Regions from separate parts of the Homo sapiens genome. Here region 2 is linked to region 1. The links are contacts of gene promoters, found by promoter capture Hi-C in blood cells and fetal thymus (Javierre and others, 2016). All regions are on one chromosome and are shown on one strand. Each heading gives the region's core, a stretch centred on a gene start or on the middle of the fragment in contact. The rest is flanking DNA. Distances are from core to core; before and after follow the strand shown. Region 1 holds the start of SRGAP3-AS3 (SRGAP3 antisense RNA 3). Region 2 has its middle 14 kb from the start of RAD18.

The links. Contacts are between HindIII fragments. The CHiCAGO score rates a contact against its expected background, and 5 or more counts as called.
Region 2: a fragment that was not itself captured here is called in contact with the fragment with the promoter of SRGAP3-AS3 in region 1 in 1 of 17 cell types (M0 macrophages); the score reaches 5.5 in M0 macrophages.

Annotation. Positions count from the first base shown.
Region 1 is chr3:9,215,613-9,219,916 of GRCh38, forward strand. SRGAP3-AS3 (SRGAP3 antisense RNA 3) reads left to right here and starts at 1,283. Exons shown (of 5, transcript NR_103443.1): 1 at 1,283-1,377; 2 at 1,750-1,864; 3 at 2,119-2,941; 4 at 3,597-3,744; 5 at 3,855-3,896. All of the region lies in intron 1 of SRGAP3 (SLIT-ROBO Rho GTPase activating protein 3), which reads right to left. The HindIII fragment of the contact is 5,796 bases long and covers 1-4,304 here.
Region 2 is chr3:8,975,856-8,979,849 of GRCh38, forward strand. No RefSeq gene overlaps it. Among named protein-coding and RNA genes, the nearest start is that of RAD18, 14 kb to the left of the region's middle. The HindIII fragment of the contact is 1,384 bases long and covers 1,341-2,724 here.

The DNA.
Region 1 (4,304 bases), core at 33-2,532:
AGTAAGGAAGATCACTCATGTGGGTTGGCACCAGCCAATCAGCTGAGGCCCTGAATAGAACACAAAGGCAGAGGAAAGGCACACTGCTTCTCTCTCTTTCCTGGAGCTGGGGCATCCTTCTTCTCCTGCCCTTAGACATCAGAACTCAGGTCCCCCAGCCTTTGGACTCTAGGACTTGAACCAGCGGCCTCCCCTCAGTTTTCAGGCCTTTGGCCTTAGACTGAAAGCTGCACCATTGGCTTCTCTGGTTCTGAGACTTTCAGACTTACACTGGCCAACGCTCCTGGATTCCCTGGATCTCCAGCTTGTAGATGGCCTAGCATGGGACTTCCCAACCTCCATTATGATGTGAGCCAATCCCCCTAATAACTCCCCTCAGACAGATAGACACACAGATAGATAGGCATATACACACATACACATACACACATGTATACATATATATATGTATATATACTCTCCAGCTGGTTCTATCTGGAGGCCCCTGACTAATGCACACTCAGAGGGCCTGAGCACCAACTGTTAGTATGCACACTGCAGATGTATCAGCCCACCAGGTCATTCTCTTATGCTTTCCCTCTTCTGTGCTTCATCTTCTTACTTCCACAGACCCTTCTAGAACACTCAGGCCCTGCCTCTCACCTGGAGGCAGGACCATCCCCCACAAGGGGAATACAAAATTATGGGCATACGTTTTAAGTCAACACAATGACTGGAGAGTACTACCAGCATTTAACGGGCAGGGGTCAAGGTACTAAGCATCTGCAATATAAGGGACAGTCCCCACAGTGAAGAACTGCCCCACCCAAAACACCCTGTGGAGCAGCCACAGCCCGGTCCTCTCCGTATCGTTTCTCTGAACCGTCTCCCACCTTCCTCCTACACTTCAGGCTGGCAAAGCTGAATGGCCACAGAGCAGATACCCTAAGAAATGCTAGCCCAGTGCTCTCAGAAATAACTTCAACTCGATGGACTGTTGCAGTTACGCACTGTCACAAACAACGATTCTTACTTCAGTCCCACGTAGAGGACAGGCTCCGATGTAATGGATGAGGAAACGGAGGTACTGAGGGGCCAAGTCACTTTCCCGAGCCATGGCTAAAAACTGACAAGACCGCAGCACATGAGCCACACCACGGAAGCCACCCAAGTGTCCCTCCCCAGAGGAGCGGATGAACGTGATGCGGCCTCTACGCATACAATGGGATATTACTCCGCCTTAAAAAGGAAGGGAATTCTGACACACGCCTCAACACGGATGAACCCTGAAGCATTACGCTAACTAAACTACAGCAGACACAGAGGACAAATATTGTATGAGTCCGCTCACACGAGATGCCTAGAGGAGCCAAAACCACGGAAACAGAAAGTAGACTGGTGATTGCCAGGGAATGGGGGAGGAACAGGGAGTTCCTGTTCACTGGGTGCAGTTCCAGTCCTACAAGATGAAAAGTGTTCTGGAGATGGATGGTGGTGACGGTTGCACAACATTATCAATGTATTTAACGTCATTGAACTGTGCATTTAAAACGGTTAAGATAGTAAATTTTATGTGATGTGCTTTTCGACACAATAAAAAAAAATTGACAAGGCTGGCACTCGTTAACTGAGTTCCTAAATCAAAATCCACTCTCCTTAAATTATACCCCAGCCCTAAGGTCTAAATGAAAACATTGCTGCCTTTCCAATACATTGGGCTGTGAGAAATTTAACTACTTTAACTATTAATGGCCCAATCCTGTGCCACAGGGGCCTCATTGAGATGCCAGATTGCTTCTTCAAGACCCTCCAAGGGGGCACGTCAAATTCTGATGGGCCTCACCTTGGACAAGGCTGGGGTTTTTAGACCAGCTTTCACAGCCTGGTAAGACTCCCTCCTCCCCGCAAAAGGAAGGGGATCTACAGAGGGTGGCCAACTTTTCAAAGGGTATTCGGGGCAGGGAGAAGAACTACCTCAATTGTTTAAGAAAGGATAATTTCTGACACACACATACACACACACCACACCACACCACACGCAGGAAATGAAGACCATCATTTGTGTAATAAAGAGCAGGTCTTGAATTGTGTGCCATTAGGTTTATGAGAAAATGTCTACATTGTCCTTATTTTTTTCAGGTTGCTCCAGTGTCAAGACTGACAGTGATCCAGGGACCTTTAGGGCAGACAACTTCATTGTGACAGAATGAGACCTGTGGCCTTTGGACCTCGGTGGGGCCATATGTCACCCCTGCAGGCCCCAGGCCCCCCAAGCCACCAAGAGTCACAGAGGCAGGGAGGGGACAGGAGGAGATCTTGCCCCCACTGCATCTGGCTCTCCTGCCCTCACCATCCGCAGCAGGGGGTACACTACAGCTTCGGCTTTACAAACACAGGGAAAAAGCTAACACAACCTTTAAGCCGCATTAACAGGATCAAGGGATGTATTATTAGTCCTGCTAGCCTCCGAACCATTGAGAGTACTTCTGAAAGACAGTGCTTACTTAGCTTGGGCTCCAGATTTTAAGAGACCCGTTAATAATTTGGAAGGTTTATTAGCAGACTGCAGATCCAAAAATGGTCCTCCTCTATTTGGGAAGATATTGCAGGAAACAATGCTCTAGGAGAGACCACAGCTGGGCCAGCCAGATTGGTCAAATCCACCCTAGAAATGAATTAGGGAGAAGAGATGGCAGCCAGATGGCTTTTTAAATGTTGATAAGCTGAAGTGTGGCCAGAAAAAGAGACCAGAGAATGAGGGAATAAGTCACCTAAAGCATGATGGCAGAATCTAAGCATAAACGCTTAGCAGAGAAAATAAACACACCGTCCATATACACCATGCCCAGCCCCAAGCCCAGGGCAGATCTGATACTCTCCTGCTGACCCTGACACAGCCTCAGAATACTTCTCAACACAGACCGCCAGCTGTCACTGCAATCCAGCACAGTTGGCACATCAGGTAGAAACTATTTCCCACCGCTGATTTAGGAGTACATAAAAGCTGTCTTTATTTTATTTCATTTTATTGAATTTTTTATCTTTTAATTTTACTTTTTATTATTTATTATTTTTATTTATTTATTTACTTTTTGAGATGGAGTCTCACTCTGTTGCCCAGGCTGGAGTGTAGTGTTGTAATCTCTGCTTGGCTCACTGCAACCTCAACCTCCCGGATTCAAGTGATCCTCCCACCTCAGCCTCTCTAGTAGCTGGGAATACAGGTGTGAACCACCACACCTGGCTAATTTTTGTATTTTTAGTAGAGATGGGGTTTCACCATGTTGGCCAGGCTGGTCTCAAACTCCTGACCTCAGGTGATCCACCCACCTCGGCCTCCCAAAGTGTTGGGATTACAGGCGTGAGCCACTGCGCCCAGCCTATTTTATCTTATCTTATTTTATTTTTATTTTATTTTATTTAAATAGAGACAGGGTCTCACTATGTTCCCCAGGCTGGTCTTGAATTCCTGGCCTCAAGTGGTCCTCCCACCTAGGCCTCCCAAAGTGCTGGGATCACAGGTGTGAACCATCATGCCTGGCCAAAAGCTGTCTTCAAATGACGAAACAGCTACCATGAGGCAGCCAGCTTAGATTTTAGTCTGTATTGTTCTAAAGGAGAGAGGCATCTTGCAGTTCCACTCAAGAAAGACTTTCCTAGCAAGACTTTCCAACAATGCAAATAGTCTCATTTCTGAGGTGGTCAGCCCCTTACTGCAGGAAGTTCCAATCAGAAGCCTCATGGTTGTCGAGGACTCTGCATCAGGTGAGAGTTAGGACGTATGCTGTGATTCTTGAGGTTCAGTGTAATCAGGTATGTACTAAGCCATAACATGTGGCAGGAACAGGCACACAGGTTATCACCTCTATTTACAGATGAGGGGGCTTGAGTAACTTTACCCCATGAGGAAGCAGAAGATCAAGAATTCCTATCTACAGAATGGAATACCATCCAACCATTTAAAAAGAATGAAATCCTGGCCAGGGGCAGTGGCTCACACCTGTATCCCAGCACTTTGGGAGGCCAAGGCGGGTGGATCACGGGGTCAGGAGATCAAGAGCATCCTGGCTAGCATGGTGAAACCCCGTCTCTACTAAAAACACAAAAAAATTAGCCAGGCATGGTGGTGGGCACCTGTAGTCCCAGCTACTCATGAGGTTGAGGCAGGAGAATGGTGTGAACCCGGGAGGTGGAGCTTGCAGTGAGCCAAGATCGCACCACTGAACTCCAGCCTGGGCGACAGAGTACAAAAAAATAAAGAAAGAAAGAATGAAATCCTGTCATTTGCAGCAACATGGATGGAACTGGAGGTCATTATGTTAAGT
Region 2 (3,994 bases), core at 783-3,282, 240 kb before region 1:
AAACACTCCCAGTTTGGTGAAGCTGTCTGTTTCAGATCACACCCAGTGTCCTGCCTCATCCTCAGGCCTAAGAGAGAGAATGGAGACCCAGCTCCAGAGTGAGACTGCCTAGTTCTGAACCCCAACTCCGTGATGCCTAAGTAGTGTGTCCCATGGCAAGTTACTTAGCCTGTCTGTACTATTTCCTCGTAGGTTAAGCTGGAGTAACATTAGTATCTGCTTTAAAGGGTGGTTGAGAGGACTAATGAGTTGGCCTTTATATGTGAAGGGGCTTAGAACACAGTAAGTGCTCTAACAGGTTGGCTATTATCATTCTGTCTACTTTTTCCTTTTTTTTTTGAGACAGAGTCTCGCCCTGTTGCCCAGGCTGGAGTGCAGTGGCACAATCTCAGCTCACTGCAACCTCCACCCACTTGGTTCAAGTGATTCTCCTGCCTCAGTCTCCTAAGTAGCTGGGACTACAGGCATGCACCACCACACCTAGCTAAGTTTTCTATTTTTTGTAGAGACGGGGTTTCTCCATGTTGGCCAGGCTGGTCTTGAGCTCCTGACCTCAAACAATCCCCCTGCCTCAGCCTCCCAAAGTGCTGGGATTACAGGCGTGAGCCCCTTTTTTGTTTTAATTGCAAGAAGCAGAAATCGCACTCAAGTTACACCAGGTAAGGAGGGCTTGAATGTAAGGTCTCCCAGTGAGGAATAGGCACTGGGGCAGGTACTCAACCGGGGGTTCTGGCTCTCTCTAGGGACTGGATGGCTTTGCTCTCGAAGCCTGTGATCTCTGCCATTGGCTTTGCCCATTGGTTTTGTCACTGTGCTCTCAGAGTCTCATCCCTAGTGACGTCAGCCTCCCTATGGTGCAGAAGGGCCACCTCTCTGCCTCCGACCTCCTCGTTGTTGTGGGCTCTCATCTTCTGGTCTCCTGCTTACAGGGCCTGTCATTTTGTTACTTCTGGGTCAAGCTTCCCAAGAAAGGTCATCTGCAGGTCCAGCTTTGCCAAGGGCCATGGTGACTAACCAATCTACCATCAACTGCTGTTGCATCAGCTGCCATCCTTGGCTCAATCCAATGGAGTCAGGGGGTAGGGTAGCACAATATCAAACATGGTCGTTAAGGGAGTTCCCTTTAGAAAGCAGAGGGGATGTGGTGGGGCTGGTGGCCCTCCCCTATGTGTGCTTCTGCAGCCTTCAGCCAAGGCACTGAGTGAGCCCTCAGAGCTGGAGGAAATAATCAAGGTCAGCTTCCCCAACCCCCTTGTTTTACAGATGAGGATACTGAGGCCCAGACAGGGGAAGAGACATTCCCCAAATCTGGTAGCCAATGAATGGCAGAATCCCACTGAAGCTTTTTCCTTAGAGCTCCTTCGGTTCAGTCACTCATCAGATGCCCAACAACCTGCTCTTTCTGTCTGCAGAGCATGGAGATGAAGCAGAAACTCTTTAAGGAGCAGAAGCAACCATGGATGAACACAGCAGCCTTTGCTGATTGCCTGGATGGTCCAGGGATGTTACGTAGATCATCCACTCCAGACCGCAAACAACCCTGTGGAGCAGAGCCTTCTTAGCCCTGTGTTCCTGAGGAAATGGAGGCTCCAGGAGGTTTTGTCACTTGCTAAAGTCAACCAGCTGATACAAGCCGGTGCTGGGATCCACACTCAGATCTGTCTGAATCCAGAGCCTTTGCACTTACACCCATGACTGAAGCTCGTCCAAATCACCCAGCCAGTGTGAAGCATGGGAGTGGGAGATGCTTGGGGTGGGTGGAGGGAGAGTGGCTGGGGTCTAGGGAGCATGGGCCAGGGTCCAGGAAAGCCAGAGACCCTTTCTCTCCCTCAATGTGATCCTGGGACTTGGGACAAGCCCTGGATCTTCTCTGTTCCTCAGTTTCCCCATCTGTAAAATGAACATCCCATCTAATATAATTTATATGTTCTTGGGAGAGTTGGAGTAGAAAAAGGGGAAAATAGAAAATGTTCTCAACAACAGTAAAGACACATGTGGCACTAATGCAAGGAATCGATAGTAAGTATTCTCAATGTTAGGGCTTAAAAGAAATGGATGAGTAACAGAGCTATCATAGGTTCCTGAGAGAAGCTGAGATAGACCTTACTCCTAAGGTGGTTGTCAAGGCAAGCAGACCTCCCTGCAGCTAGGCATTTGGGGGCCATGGAATTCTTGCTGGCCTGAAAGTGCTTTAAGTCCCTGCATTTTGAACTCCCTGAGGATCAGTCTTCTCATTTATTAACTGGGGGTGCTAGCAGAATCTACTCCCACAAGTTGTTTGTAAGAATTCAATGAGGCAAGGCATGTGAAGTGCTTGGTAATGTGTCAACATACAGAATGCACTTGATGGATGTTAACTTTATTATTGTGAAGTCAATGTACAGTCCATGGACAAGGACAAAATTCTACATATTTGCGTGAGCATTTTTCTAGTGTATCAGTTAGCTATTGCTGCATAGCTAACTACCCTAAAACTGAGAGACTGAAAACCATCACCATTTATTATTTTTCATGGGCAGCCCCAAAATCTCCTTTGGGCAACTTGTATTCTTCCCTGATGCAAAGTCTTGGTGGGGTTGACACCACCCTTCAAAATACAGGTTGCTTAAGGCCATTTTTCTATTCCATCCCCTTGGTCTGCTTTTGGGATAAACCTGTGGCTTAATTCTGGTCAGTGAGAATCAGACCCAAGACTACTGAAGCTGAGGAGGTGCAGGTAGTGGAAGCTTCAGCAGCCACTGGGCAACCACAAAATATCAGACAAGCTGTCTGAGCATAAAGTCAACCCAGAGAGCTGAGCAGAGCCAACCTGAAAGAAGAGAACTGCACCCCGGAGACAACACTCACATCGTCACATCATCCTGGGTTTGAAGCCATTTCTAGACTGGAGTTTCCACCCATGTGAGCCAATAAATTCTCTTTTGCTTAGGGCTGTTTGGGTTGAATAGTTTGTCGTTTGCAAACAAAAAATTCCTAAACAGATGTGCAATGGACAATCCAGCAATGGTCTATGCTTTGTGGCTGACAAAATAGTCAAGTTGCTAAAATCTGCCCTTTGTGCCTCTGTGGGTTAGAGACACTGTTCTATTTATCATTGAGTAAAAGTCGATCTTAGAATTCTAGAGTGATCATTTTGTGCAATTAGACTGTATGCAACTTGAGGAAAGGAACTGGGGCTCATCATTCTGTGTCCCCAGCAGCTAACTTGAGGCAAGTTGCATAAAAAGGTGCTAAGGTGCTTCATACACGCTTGTTGAATGAATGAGAGGCTCCTGATTTGAAGCTTTCAAATGTGTACTGTTGCTATGAGCAAGTAAACAGATTATGGAACACATACAAAGTTTAGCCTCTTAGAAGGTTAGTAGTTTGAATGTGTCCCCCAAATTTATGTGTTGGAAACTTAATACCCAATGCAATAATCTTGGGAGAGGGCACCTAATAAGAGGTGACTGGTTCATGAGGGCTCCACCCTCATGAATCAATTAATGTCATTGCCATGGGCATGGGATTGTTATCATGACAGAAGGTTATAAAAGAGTCTGCCCCTCACACTGTCTCTTTTGCCCTTCTGCCTTCCACCATGAGATGGCCCTAGCCAGATGCTAGTGTCATGTTCTTGGACTTTCCAGCCTCCAGAACCATGAGCCAAATAAGCTGTTTTTCTTTATGAATTACCCAGTCTGTTCTATTCTGTTACAGCAACAGAAAATAGACTAAGACATTTTCATAGCAGAGGAGTCTGGAATTCGCAAGAGACCATCATTGAGTGATGAGCATTTTTGGTGGGAATGAGTCACTGAGGCTGCAAGGAGGCCCTTCCATGAAGATCCAGCAGAGGTTTAATCAGAAAGAGAGACTGAAAATCATCACCATTTATTATTTTTCATGGGCAGCCCCACAATCTCCTTTGGGCAACTTGTATTCTTCCCTGATACAAAGTCTTGGTGGGATATAAAGGCCCTGGAGTATTTCTTGACTGCAGCAAGCAGCAAGC